Regions from separate parts of the Homo sapiens genome. Here regions 1 and 3 are each linked to region 2. Evidence: promoter capture Hi-C in human tissues and cell types (Jung and others, 2019). All regions are on one chromosome and are shown on one strand. The core of a region is centred on a gene start or on the middle of the fragment in contact, and the rest is flanking DNA. Distances in the headings are between cores, read along the strand shown. Region 1 overlaps ATXN1 (ataxin 1). Region 2 holds the start of GMPR (guanosine monophosphate reductase). Region 3 overlaps ATXN1 (ataxin 1).

Region 1 (4,300 bases), core at 137-2,636, 170 kb before region 2:
ATGTCACAAAGCTCAAAAAAGTAGTGATTAACATGCAGTGCTTTCAGGAGGCCCACATTGCCGATTCAGTCCCAGTATGGGCTCGTCAGTTTCACTTTCATTCATTCATTTATTTATTTATTCCCCCACCCATTGATTCACATTCACTCATCCATTCATTAAACATTTGCTGCACACAATATCACTGTTAGACAGACTTTCAGAAATGATTGGGTTCCTGTATTACAGACATGAGCCCACGGCACAAAGGTCAAACTAAGAGTAAGATGGATGTTTATAGCACAAGCCTATAACAAAAAGAATGGGTCCCGAGCCGCATCTTCTTCCAAATGCACAAACTATATTTGTACCTTAAAAAAAAAACAAAAACAGTGTTTCCTTTTGAGAGGCAGCATGGTATATGGGAAGAACACGGATTTAAGAACTAGACAGGCCTGGGTTTGAATTCTGCATCCATAATGTGCTAACTGTATCATTTCGAGGAAGTTCTTTTGAGTTTCAGTTTGTCTTTAAATAGAGTCATCATTTCTACTTTGTAGGGTTGTGTGAGGATTAAATATAAAATATGCAGCATAATGACTGGCACATTTAAACGAAGTGCTCAGCAAGTGCTATTTCCCTTCCCCTTTCTTCATTTCTAACATAGTTTGGGAATGGTTTAGGATGACTCTTTTTCTTCTTGTGAATAGATAGAGACCTCATCACCCTAACACTAGAAAACTATAGGACAGAGACCATACTTCTTGCTGTGGCCAGCCCTCATCCACTTTGATGATGCTTGCAGCTCCCAAGAGAGACAACAGCCCCCACGGCATGGCCAAGAGAGGAGCAAACTCTCTCCCCAAGGCAGTCACTCTGGGGATGCCATTGTTCCATTGCCAAACTCATGACCTTTGGGGAATTTGGAAATCTACTACTTTGTGGGGAGAAAAGGACAAAGAAAGTCAAGATTAAGCTTTATATGTAAAGGCCTTTTATTTTAATGGTGTTGAATTGAGTTTGGATTTTGCGTACCCTTCAAATTTCTTAGGGTGTGGGTGAGGGCATCCTAGGAGATTTAATTAGCTCCTTGAGCGGCACTGAAGTTTGCGACATTGAGGCACATTTTCTTCTATTGTCCATTGAAGTGGGGGAGCCTGGCAATGAAATTTCTGAGAAACTGACGCTGTTGCCGTGGATAGAATTGTATGGATATTTGAATTTAGTTTAGTCACTTGGTGGAGTTTTATTTTGTTGTTTGGTTTCTTTTGGAAAGAGAAAATTAGTATAGTATGAATCTGAGCAGTCTGGTTACATGCTTTAATGGGCCTCTGAGATAAAGCAGAAAAGGATGTAGTCTAGTAGTAACCCTTTAGATGATAAGGGACACGCAGGAGGCTGTCCAAGACAGTCTGTTAATCTTAATAGTCTCTCACTTGTTAAGACCTGATTTATTTCAAACTAAATTTCTTGTTTTGAGTTTCCGGGTGAAAGTTCTGGACTGAATCCCTAAAAACATGCACAACAAAGAAGAAGGCTTTTAGAAAGGTTTCTCCTATTGACAGGGTTCATATTCTATAGTTCACAATTCAGTGAATCAACATTTATATTAATTTCATCCGTTACAACCTCAGAATTTGCCTACAAGATCCAATGGCATTTTTACTGCCCTTATTTAGCAAGCCTATACAGTACTTCATGCACTTGGTCATGTCTTCAACTAATATTTATTGGGTGTCTTCCCTAAGCAAGATAGTGCGAGAGAGAGAGCTGAGTTAAAACATTCAAGATAACCTCAAGAAGCTGACAATCTACTAAGGGAGATAAGACATACATATTAATAAGAACAACTTAAACACAAAGGACAAGATGATATGTGGCATATCTTATCAATTAAATAATGTTGGACTTCAGAGGGTGAAGGAATTAGGCATGAAGGTATATCTCAACAGGGCTGTGAATGACTGGAAACAAGGTCTTCTCTCTTCACACTGTGAGCCAGCCACATCCATACTACGGTGACATTCATTTCTCCCCCAGGCCAGCTATGGGCAGAAGTTTAATTATCCTTGAACGTCTTCAATGATCCTCATCTTTGCCCTTGTTCCCTCTTTATCCTTTCTTTCTCCCCAATGTCTTAAATCCTGATGCAGCCAGGGAGATTTTTTTTTTTTAACCTTCAAGAAGGTAAAAAACTATGCCAGGGCAAAATGCCAGATCAATGTTGCTATTAATATAATCAGATATAAACTTTTTCCAGTTGGCACCAACAACCCTGGGCCTTCTCTGAGTACCACCTATAAACAGGGCTTCAATTTCCCATTTTTGCATACTTACTAATGTACTACAGATCTTGCACTGACTTTAATTCAATATCAATATTAAAGTCATATGAGGTAGTAGTAAATAGAGATAGCCATACCTTAGAGTCAATAAGACATAAAATTAGTTATGTTATTATTATTATTAATTATGCATAATATGTCATTTTCCTGAAGAGAACAGACTAATAGCTGATTTCAGCAAGCATCTTTAGGCTTTTGTTTTCAAATTATTTTACATCTTTTTCTTTTCTTTTCTTTTCTTTTTTTTTTTTTTTTTTTTGACACAGAGGTCTCACTCTGTCACCCAGGCTGGAGTGCCGTGGTGTGATCTCAGCTCACTGCAACCTCCGCCTCCCAGGTTCAAGCAATTCTCCTGCCTCAGCCTCCCAAGTAGCTGAAACTACAGGCATGTGCTACTACACACGGCTAATTTTTGTATTTTTGGTAGAGACGTGGTTTCAGCATGTTGGCCAGGATGGTCTCAAACTCCTGGCCTCAAGTGATCCGCCTGCATTGGCCTCCCAAAGAGCTGGGATTACAGGCGTGAGCCACTGTGCCTGGCCACCCACCTATTTTCCATCTTTAGCACTGGCCGTTCTCATTCAAAATACGTACTGCTACACTAAGAGGAGACTTAACTTCAAATTCACTTTGCTCCACGGATGTTGTATATGACCTGAATAGATGTAATTCTGACAAGCTTGTAGTTCATTGGAGGCTCACAATTTGAAAGAAATGCATGATTAAGACTTTAGAACATAAAGAAGATTCTAGTAAAACAAATGATTGCACCCTTTTGGATTTTTTGCATATTATCTTTATGTAGGGAAGGGAATGATATGTTAGAAAGAATCCTCAAACAGGTTTAGACAAATCACTGGTTGAACCATAATCTCCAAAATATCGCTACATCAGAAAAAGCCCAACATAGCCTCTGAGGTATTCGTCAGAAATCCCAGTGCAAGCATTAGGAAAGAAATGTACTCCCTGCTCCTCACCTTTGTAAGTCAGATTTAGTCTTCACTGTTCATTTCAGGTTCTCTGCCTCCATAGGGGTCCCTTCAGCACTTGTTTGGTTCTCTAATTGGCTTATGATAGTGGGTCTTACATCATCAACTGGATTGTAAATTCCTTCAGAAAGAGATGTCAATTAAGTACACAGCAGAGTCACAGTATTTCAAAATTGGAAGTCATAGTAAGGGGGAAGGAGGGCCGCTAGATGCTGTGATTCACACGGCGTCATAGTAAGCAAGAGGCCGAGGCAGTGCCAGCACCCAGGTAGGGCTCCGGTGCCACCCTCTGCTTCATCCTCTGCCAAGCCTATCACGACGGTCGTTCAGCTCATGCTCTCCATGCACGTCTGGTGATTTGATGCTCATCTTTGCCAGCTTCAGAGCATCACTGGACACATGCCCAGTCTTGAAGGGTTAATTTTCAAGTACCAAGCATGCTTTGGACAAACTCAAATCTGTTCCTTGTTTTCGCTCAACCCGCAACCAGCATCATCAGCCCAGACGCAGCTTCCCCAGAAGGCCAGCAGGTGGAGCACAGTTTTGTGGAACTTCTCTAGAACTCGCTGTTTAAAAGCCGCAAACCAAGACATGTGAGGCTGTGGGGTGGGGGGCAAAGAAGAGCCCCAGATTCTGCACGTCTGGAAGCTTTTAAAATTGTCTTACAACAATTTTAGACCTACAAAAGCCAGCTTTTGAAATTGCATAAACGGCAAGTCGAGTTCTTTTTTTTTTTTTTTTTTGAGACCTAGTCTTACTCTATTGCCCAGGCTGGAATGCAGTGGCACGATCTTAGCTCACTGTAGCCTCCACCTCCCAGGTTCAAGCTATTCCCCTGCCTCAGCCTCCCGAGTAGCTGAGACTACAGGCGTGAGCCACCACGCCAGGTTAATTTTTGTATTTTTAGTAGAGACAGTGTTTCACTATGTTGGCCAGGCTGGTCTTGAACTCCTGACCTTAAGTGATCCACCTGCCTCTGCCTCCCAA
Region 2 (4,785 bases), core at 264-2,763:
TTATTAGCACATCCAGAATCCCCCTATTTCATCTTGGTCTTGCCTTAGGAATTGGCTACAGCTCATGCTTCCAGAGGCCCAGGCCTGCCCTCCAAACTGTTTTTGTTCCAAGAGAGGCCCCCTCTTTAGCACCTGAAAGGTCATGAGGGACAGGCACAGGGTCACCCAATCTGGGGCGATAAGTTTTAATCATTCCTCCCCTACGTCCTCCAGTCCTGCCGGGCTCCAAACCAGCCAATGCTGCTGCTTACAGAAGGCCACTTGGTTTAGTCATTGGCTAACGCGGAGGCTTCCCCAATCCAAGCAAGCCCTCGGCTGGCAGCCCCAGGCACTGCAGTTAGGCCTGGCACCGGAGTGGGCAGCGGACTTCTTTGCTGAGGGGATTTATTTATGGTCTTGTTTGTGGAGCTGAGTGGACGGAGCTGTGCAGGTTGGCCCAGCCTCCTCGTGTTTACTCCTTCAGCCCCAGCCTTCAACCGTGTCCGGTTTCCTCACCTTCCTCTCCAGCTCTCAGCAAAGCCAGTCACCAGCGCACACCACCCCGGGGCACTCTGCCTTTCAGGCAACTAGTTTATCCTTCAGGGACTGGCCTCCCTTCCCCCAGCCTCAGGCTATTTCCAGTCCGGTCTCCACCTGTTCCTTAGGATTTGAGGACATCCAGGCAGAACCAGGGAAATGCCCGAGGCTTCCAATTCGCCCCCACCTCTCTCACCCCAAAGCTTTCGAAACTCTTCTCCAGGGCTAGGCTGGGACCGCGGGCTGTCCAGTACCGCTGAGTCCCCAAGCCCCACTGCCAGCAAGGCCGCCAAACTCAGAAAGGAAACCCTGAACTTGTGCCCTGGGTTCTGGTTTTTCAGACGCGTTCACGAAGTTCCACCGCTGGACCCGAAGCGAAAGCAGCAGCAATTATCAGCACTAGGAGACGCAGCCAAAAATCACCGGGATCTGCAGTTGTTTTTCTCGTCCTCTCTCCCCTAGCTCCAGTTTCCTTTTCTTGCTATAAGCGCCCTCGTACCCCTATTCCTTCTAAACCAACTGGCCACTGGATCTCGCTCATCTGTGGTCGAGTTTCACTGTGAACTTCCCCTAGGCCACCCAACGGGACCGACGTGTAGAGAATTTCATGGGCCCCCGTATCACCGCCCTTAAAGACACCTCACGTCCTGGCAGGTGCTGGGGCGCGGGAACGGGGGCGCAGCGCCCCAGTCTCAAACACCAAAGCAGGCAGGGTAACCCGGTGCCACCCCCTTCCACCCACTTGCCCCGCGCCACCCGGAAAAAAAAATCCCACCCCACTGCGACTTCCGAACGTCCCCCACCTCGGCTCGGCTCTTGAGGCTGCTCCGCTTAGGTCGGAGCAGGACATCCTTGAAGTCGAGCTTGAGGTCCGCATCTATGCGGGGCATGGTGCAGCGGCTCCTGGCTGCGGCGGCGGCGACGGCGGGGCGGGGGCGCCTGCGCGGGGCGGCGCGGGGAGCGCCGGGGCTGCTGTGCCGCGGCCGGGAGCTGGCGTGGGCCGGGTGCGCACGCCGCGGTCTTAAACACGCCCCGCCGACCCGCGGTCACGCTTGGCCCGCCCCGGGCACCGCCTCCGCCTCAGGCAGGGGTTGAGAGGCAGACTGGTTAGGGACAGATTGGCGGCGAAGCCCTTCCTCCTCGCGCCGCCGCCCCCGTCCTTCCCCCTCAGGTGTACAGCCCGTGGCAGTGACCGAATGGGGACGGGGGAGGGAAATGCGCACCGTTCTGTTTGTCCCCAGGGTCCCCGATGGAGAGGGGACTTAGCGTGTGGCTGCCTTATCCAAGGGAAAAGTCGCTCCCTGAGAGCTTTTACTTTTTTTTTTTTTTTTTTGAGACAGTCTCACTGTCGCTCAGGCTGGAGTGAGTGGCGCTATCGCCGCTCATCGCAGCCTCGACTTCCTGGGCTCAAACGATTCTCATGCCTCAGCCTCCTCGAGTACAGGCGCACGCCGCCACACCCAGCTTATTTTAAAAATTATTTCCTAGAGGCGGGGTTTCACCATATTGCCCAAGCTGGTCTCGAGCCCCTGACCTCAAGTGATCCGCCTGCCTCGGCCTCCCAAAGTGCTGGGATTACAGGCGTGAGCCACCGTGCCCGGCGGATTCTCCTTTTTTAAAATTCAAGCCCGGTGTGCTCACCCAGTGTTGAGGAGCACGTCTCTCACTTGCCAAAGAACCAGAAACCCCAGGGAGGTTGTATAGAATTAAGGAAAAGAACGTGGGCAGTTAACTGTTTAGCTGTACTGGGATTGTGGAGGCCATGATTCCCTTTGGACTTGTTGTTAAGAGACAAGGTCTCACTGTGTTGCCCAGGCTGGTCTTGAACTACTGGGTTCAAGCAATCCTCCCGCCTCAGCTTCCCAGTGTTGGGACTACTGGCGTGAGCCACTGCGCCCAGCCTGGATTTCAGGATTTTTGTTTAAGAAAAACAGTGAGGTCTGTAGTCGACGCAGATCCTGAGATTTGAGGAGCCTGAGTCCCCTCTGAGGGTTACCAGTGATGTGAGTTCGAGGGGTTACCAGTGATGTGAGTTCATTGATTCACTTATTGACCTTACCGACCTTTTATTATACATTTGAAATGTGCTGCCGGGCTTCATGCATCATCTCATTCACTCTCAGAACAACCCAATGAAGAAAGAGCCATTTCACAGATAAGGAAAAACGAGGCTTCTATAAATGAAATAACTTGCCTAAGGCCGCAGAAAAATTCAATATAAATTTCTCAGTCCTTAAAACTTGCTACAACTATTCACTGAAGCTGCTTTTGTCCTGGAACATCTCTGCCTGAGTTTGAAACCTGGTTCCACCACTGTCTAGCTAGGTGACCTTAGGGGAGTCAATTTCTCTAAGTCTCAGTTTTCTCATAAAAGGGGTGGGGGCAGGAGGGGGGGTTAACCCTATCTCCTCCCTGGTTTTTGTGAGAATTAAAGTGTGTGTGTTTATGTAAGCACAATGTCTGTCCCATAGTAGTTGCTCAATGCATGGTAGTTACAGATTTGTAGTCACATGTTACATTATGTGCATTGTGTTTGTATTTTCAAACTAGAATGCTAACTGCACAAAGGCAAGAATCATCTTTCATTCTCTTCCATTTTTCTGCAGCCTCGAACTGAGCTAGCAACTGTTCTCCTTGAGCTAGCATGTGATAAGGCTGACCATAAAAGATACATCACAATATTCAATTTAACACAAATGTCTGAAGATGATAAAGGTCTCAGCCCATCCCACATGGTTTCATTAGCTATACCCCAAAGGAAGTTCATGAAGTTTCAGGGAAGGAAATGAAACTTATCAGAGAGAATGAAAGTAGCCACAATTAGTCCAGCCCATGCAATGTTTATAACCCTTGACGAATTCTTGGGAGCTGGCCAGATGTGCTGCTTATTTGTGAAGTACGGAAAGGAAACCTAATTCTGATCTTTTAAAGATTAAATAGAGGTAAAATATAATTACTAGATGGTATGATTATTTTTAAATTATTATCCTTAAAGGGAAGAGAAACTGACCTTGTTAAGCATCTGCCAGCGTGGATGAGGGCTTTATTCATTGTTTCATACATGGTCTTAAAGGAGAAGCTTCTGTAGGTTGTCCTTGCTCTTTCCCTCTGGTTCTCTTTCTTTCTGGCTAGCCCTCCTTTTATTAGAATAGACAGAGAAGTTCATTTTACACATTCCATTCCCTCTCCCTCTGGAACATTCCTCTATAACTGCCCTCTTCTCTGACACAAAATCATACTCCTGTTAGAGTCAGCCTGAGTCCCTGATTCTTCTAAAACCGGCTTTGCAAAAATTATGACAGTGAGAAAAATCTGACATAGGAAAATGACAACAGTGAAAGAAATCTGACCTAACTGACTCCATCTTGCTTTTAACCGCCAAGGTGTCCTTGTTCATTCCTGGGTGTAGGTTGAACTAACTATGGGAGGAATTGAGTTTATAGTTTAACTTTGAAACAAAGATGAGAACAGCACGTTCCCAAAACAAACCCCCTCCTGGCTTGGGGACCAGCGCACCTTTGTAAAACTAACAAAGTAGCTACAGATTACAAATCATGGCTCAGGCATCATGTAGCCAGAGGCCATAAGATTCCCAACCTCCCCAGTTGCTCCTATGAATAACATCACTATTGAAAACCTAAGATTGGTGTTAGAGATATGTTTCAGTCAGTCCCCCCATTCTGATGGACCAGCTGGCACCACCCTGACCAGTAAACTGGCTCAGCTAGTTCTGTGATCCCACTCGGAAACGGAAGACAGCAAGGAAAACCCACTTCAACAGCCTATTATTTCATCCCTTACCTGACCAATCAGCATTCCCCACTCCCTAGTTCCTGCCCACCAAATTATCCTTAAAAAAGCCTGGTCTCTGAATTTTTGGGGAGACTGATTTGAGCAATAAAACTCCAGTCTCCTGTTAGCTGGCTCTGCATTTATTAAACTCTTTCTGTATTGCAGTAATGCTGTCTCAGTAAATTGGCTCTATCTATGCAGCAGGCAAGAAGAACACATAGGGCAGTTCCACTCCCACACCAACTGAGACTCCTTTCAACATCCTCTGCTTCTCATTACTCTAATACAACAATAATAGTTTCCCATCAGTACAATGACTTTATGTTAAAGTTTTCACTGTCTAGACAAAGCCATAAGTGATATCCAGAGTTCAATTTATTAACATTTTATTATGGGAGGGGAGGGTTATCCCCAAAATTACATGGGAAGATAACCTCCAAAATTATGTGGGATAAATTCCACTTGGTCACAGTGCAT
Region 3 (4,691 bases), core at 1,869-4,368, 250 kb before region 2:
TGATGGTTAATTATGTGAGTAGCAGACACCTCCTTTCTCTCTTCTGTCCCAATTTTGTCTCTCCATTTTTTATTAGTTCTTTATTTTGAGATATACTTGTCAGTGTGTTACCAATTCCAAATCTAAGATTTGTTATTATTCATTCTTGCCTTTTTTTAGAGATAAAGGACCACTCTTTTTTGTTTTTTTTCCTCAGAAATGCTATTAATGACACCCACAATGCTAATACTACAACTGTTTTTTCTGTGCATGCTCATGATTTGAAAGGAAAAACATGACTGGCCTTTGTCGATGATGTATTTGGGAAGCAACAAGATTCTAGTGTAGCACTTAAATTCTGTTTCTTGTCATCCTCAAAGCTGCTAATACAAGTTCCTTTGCCTCAAGTGTGCTTCTCAAAAGTATACAAGGCGAAATAAGTTGATAGTATCGTTCCAGGAGAAGCTGTTCCTGGGTCAGCCTTGAAAGGGGGAAAAAAATCAAGAAATCCAGGTGTGGAAAATATTAATGATCAGGATATGAATAAGTCTTTTCATTAAAAGCAACAGCAAATAAACAAAAAGTTATCCAATCCTTTTCCAGCAGGGCCTCGCTGTGCCACTCTGGTGGGTGTAAGTGTTGTCTTCGGTGGGCGGAAATGGCAGACAGCCAAGTGGAAAATTTCACAGTGTCGCAAACATTCAGTGCACGAAACGCTGCAAACCAGCAATCTGAGGGAGCCGTGTACCAAATAACCACGCTCCTGCATGTGCCCTACTGCCCACCTTACACTCTTTCTCCTAGCTTCCTGCGTGATGCCTTCACTTTCTTTTTCCCGGAGATTCCAGATTCTTCGTTTCTGTTCCTATTCTTTCCTGAAACTCAGCACAGTAGGGCATGCAGACGTTTGGATGCTCCCGGGATAGTTGATGATTGGTGCCTTACCAGTGCTGGCTTTTGTATTCTGGCTCCAGAGCTCAGGAACAGGCTTATGACCACCAACAACGCTTTGCATTAACATAGTGGATTTCTTCTCGGGAACTGTGTGTGCTTTGCAAGAATGATCTTCTTGATCTTCTCCATGACCCAGTAAGATATGACAGTGGCAGAAGGTGCTAGTCCTTGCCTCCTTTTGCAGAAGAGTAAAGCCAAGTGGCCTGTTTTGAGGCTTTTGCAAGTTTGCATCTCAGCTAAGATTGTGTCTGAAGTCTCCCAGAAATGGCTTCAACTTTGGGGTGAGGAGAGGCTGGCTGTACCATGTTGTGTTCTTTTTGGGAAAAGAGCAAGAACATTGAACTTCTTTTTTAAGAAAATGGTCTTTGGTGAACTATCAATTCGTCTAATTGGTCGTGAGACTGTATTTGTTCAGATAACAAGTGATTTGATGATGTGTTTACCTTTTTCTTTTTCTTCTGTTCTATTTCCATGCTAGGTATTTCTCACTTCTCTGTGAAAGGAAGAAAGAACACGCCTGAGCCCAAGAGCCCTCAGGAGCCCTCCAGAGCCTGTGGGAAGTCTCCATGGTGAAGTATAGGCTGAGGCTACCTGTGAACAGTACGCAGTGAATGTTGTAAGTTAACAACCAAGAACAATATGTGTAGTGGCTTGCCTTGTAGGATTCATGAATCACTTGATGTAACCGAGCCAGGTGTTGAAGGGGTATTAGCATGAGCTCTAGGTGATCGTCCAATTAATTTCTTTTTTTAATTGGAAGGGAATTTAATTTTTTAAGGGAAGAGGTCCTGTTTGTATTTGCTGGAACTTGCCTTTCTCTCGGCTTCTATGGCATGCTGCAAACTATCTACTTCAGGAATAAAAGGATGGAATACAGTGATTCTTTCATTGTAGGAACACCTTTTCTACTGGTACAGTCAAATAGTATCAGATTTAGAGCAGCCCCTTTAAACTGGGCTGTTGCAGTTCTTTTAGGTTGGTGAGTAGGGGGTAAAATTCTCCAGGCTAAGGATTAGCAATCAGAGTTTCCATCCAGCAATTATTCTTCTGTATGTGCAGTTGATGAAAATGACATTTTTCTCTCTGGCTTGTAAAATCTTGAGGTATGCAAGTTACAAGCAGTTATGTTTGGTGCTTCCCTTACTTAAAATGAGCTGATTTACTGGTTTTGATCAGTTACTGGCTTGGGATTTTGAGATTAGTAAAGTTTGTTCCCACATGTCACCTGATGGCCGCCTTGCATGAGAAGTTTTAGTGTCAGGTAATGGAAGAGATGACATAGTGTGACTTCAGGGAGCCCTTCCACTAGGAAATAATGCAAAGGTGCTCAGCCCTCCTACTTTCTAGAGAATTTACCTTGTTGCTGGACTGTGTCACAAAACACAGTTAGGAGATTTTGACCAGGAAAGAAAATAGCTACATGAAACCCAGGATGGCCTATGAATACCTCTGAGGACGAGAAGATATTATCTTCAAATTTTAGGAAATGACAAGCCAATTTCTTCTAGGTTTTTGTTGTTGTTTTTGTGTATATATAAATACATATATTTCTGTAATATATATGTATACTCTTGTTTATGTATGTGTGTGCGTGTACACACACACACACACACACACACACACACACACACACACACACATATATATTTAGGTTTCCAGCTTCTTAACTCAGCCAGAAAACTTTTTTGAACATGTATTACCTATTTTTTTTGCAGTTGCCTACAAGATTTGTAAAGAGCAAAGTGTAGCATATATCAGGGAGAAAAGTATTGACAAGGAAAAAAAATGTTCCTAATTTTTTTGGTTTCATAGATTTCTAAACATTTGTATTAAAATATGCATATGTATCCATATCATCTCCTCAGGGTTAAATAATCAGTAATATTAATATGAGCTTATTAAATTCAAATTTTCCCAGTGCTTCATTGAAAGCAGACAGTGGGAGACACTGAAGCTTCATTGTGTTTCCATTCTGTACACGTTGGGTCTAGTGGAAATCAGTCAGCCTGGAATCAGCTGACCTGAATCCTATTCCTACTGTTGAGATCAAGTACACTGGCAACCTTGGGCAAGTCGCGAGCCCCCATAAAACAATATTTTGCAAGTCTGTGTATTGCTTCATACTACCTTATTTTCATTTTTTTCTTTTTAATTGAGGTGGTGCCTTACTCTGTCACCCAGGCTGGAGTGCAATGGCAAGATCTCGATTCACTGCAACCTCTGCCTCCCAAGCTCAAGTGACCCTCCCACCTCAGCCTTCAGAGTAGCTGGGACCACAGGTGCACACCACCATGCCTGGCTAATTTTTTGTATTTTTGGTAGAGACAGAGTTTCACCATGTTGCTCAGGCTGGTCTTGAACTACTGAGCTCAAGTGATCCTCCCGCCTCTGCTTCCCAAAATGTTTTGATTACAGGCATGAGCCACCATCCCCAGCCCATACTACCTTTTTATTAAGCAATCAGCATCTTGGTTTAGGGTCCTCATAAGGGGAAGAGCATTGTGAAAGCACTATTTTACTTATTTTTTTAAAAAAAACCTTATTGTAAAAGTTTCTGTCACTATCAAGGAATAATTGTGGGCCATGTTAGATTTGGGTACTCCAGTTACAGTGTGTTTTACTAGAAATCATTTTCCCAATCAGGTAACTGTTAGAATGCACTTCTGGTGGTATTTTTTAAAGCATTTTTATCCTAGGAAACAAGTGTCTTATGTAAAACTGCTTTAGGTTTCAGGCTCTATTTAAATAACTCATGCAGTTACCATAATCAAGATAGCTTTTGTTTCAAATCTAGTGGGGGTTTTTTGTTGTTGTTTTAACCGTTGCTTTGAACTGTTCATGTGACACCCTGTCAGACCTCAAAGATTGAGTGAGGTTTTCAAAGGACTTCTGAAGTGTACACTTTAAGATGCCACATGGCAGACTTGAAGTAATTTTAAAATCCTTCTGTAAATGGAGTGTGTTGAGAGAGCAAGGAAATACCAAATTCTAGTGAACTCTTTGTGCATGCTAAGTACTTTCTTTTCAAAACCGCATTTGCTTGGTAGGGGCAGTGGGGGGTTCCTAGTTTTCTTAGTAAACTGTGATGTTGGTAACCTTTCATTATCTGGGCACATGTTTACAACACTGGTTTTCTGTCTTCCTGGGTTTAGTGTCCTGCATGCCCCAAAGCCTGTGCCATGGAGAACTGTTGCAGTAGAGAAGGCAGGCAATTTTCAAAGAATGCATGTTTGCACATAAACAGGGTCTAGGAGTGGGTGTATAAATGTGTGAGTGATAATCACAGCAGCCATTGGAAGTAGTGGTTCCCATGCTCAGCAGTCCTTGCAGATGTTACTCCTGGCATTCATTCCTGTGCATGTCCCATTAACTGCCTCTCAAATCTGCCACCACTTGCCAGCAGATGGCCTTTGCCCCTGAAGATGTTTCAGACTGGCTGTAAGGGCTGGGGGGAGGGGGGATCTTGTACAAGAAGAGAATGATGCTGACACTGAACTCAGAGTTAGCAGACCTGGATTTTATGCACAATGCTGTTGTTAGCCATATAACCTTGGGTCCTCTCTACCATGGGGACTCATTTTATGATGGACAACTTGAGAAAATTGAGTTAAATCACCTCCAGTGGTGGTTTTTACCCTAAGTGTCTCAAGTTGCATAAAGTATCAGCCTTAGATGAGGCCAATTGAACGTTTATTTTACCTTCTTGGGTTCCTAAAAATCAATGATTTGGCACTACCTCATTTACAACTGTTTTTAAA

What was found. The method cuts DNA at HindIII sites, captures the fragments that hold promoters and counts their contacts. A contact is called where the count stands out against the background at its distance.
Region 1: a fragment that was not itself captured here is called in contact with the fragment with the promoter of GMPR in region 2 in 1 of the 25 tissues and cell types used here (mesendoderm cells).
Region 3: a contact is called between a fragment that was not itself captured here and the fragment with the promoter of GMPR in region 2, in 1 of the 25 tissues and cell types used here (H1 embryonic stem cells).

What each region holds. Positions count from the first base shown.
Region 1 is chr6:16,409,409-16,413,708 of GRCh38, reverse strand. All of the region lies in intron 6 of ATXN1 (ataxin 1), which reads left to right. Among named protein-coding and RNA genes, the nearest start is that of GMPR, 170 kb to the right of the region's middle. The HindIII fragment of the contact is 4,193 bases long and covers 1-3,482 here.
Region 2 is chr6:16,235,315-16,240,099 of GRCh38, reverse strand. It overlaps GMPR (guanosine monophosphate reductase), which reads right to left and starts at 1,513. Exons shown (of 9, transcript NM_006877.4): 1 at 1,320-1,513. The coding sequence starts at 1,406. RefSeq lists silencers at 1,411-1,510, 1,631-1,730. The HindIII fragment of the contact is 5,881 bases long and covers 1-4,785 here.
Region 3 is chr6:16,482,830-16,487,520 of GRCh38, reverse strand. ATXN1 (ataxin 1) reads left to right here. Exons shown (of 8, transcript NM_001128164.2): 6 at 1,412-1,549. Among named protein-coding and RNA genes, the nearest start is that of GMPR, 250 kb to the right of the region's middle. The HindIII fragment of the contact is 4,617 bases long and covers 810-4,691 here.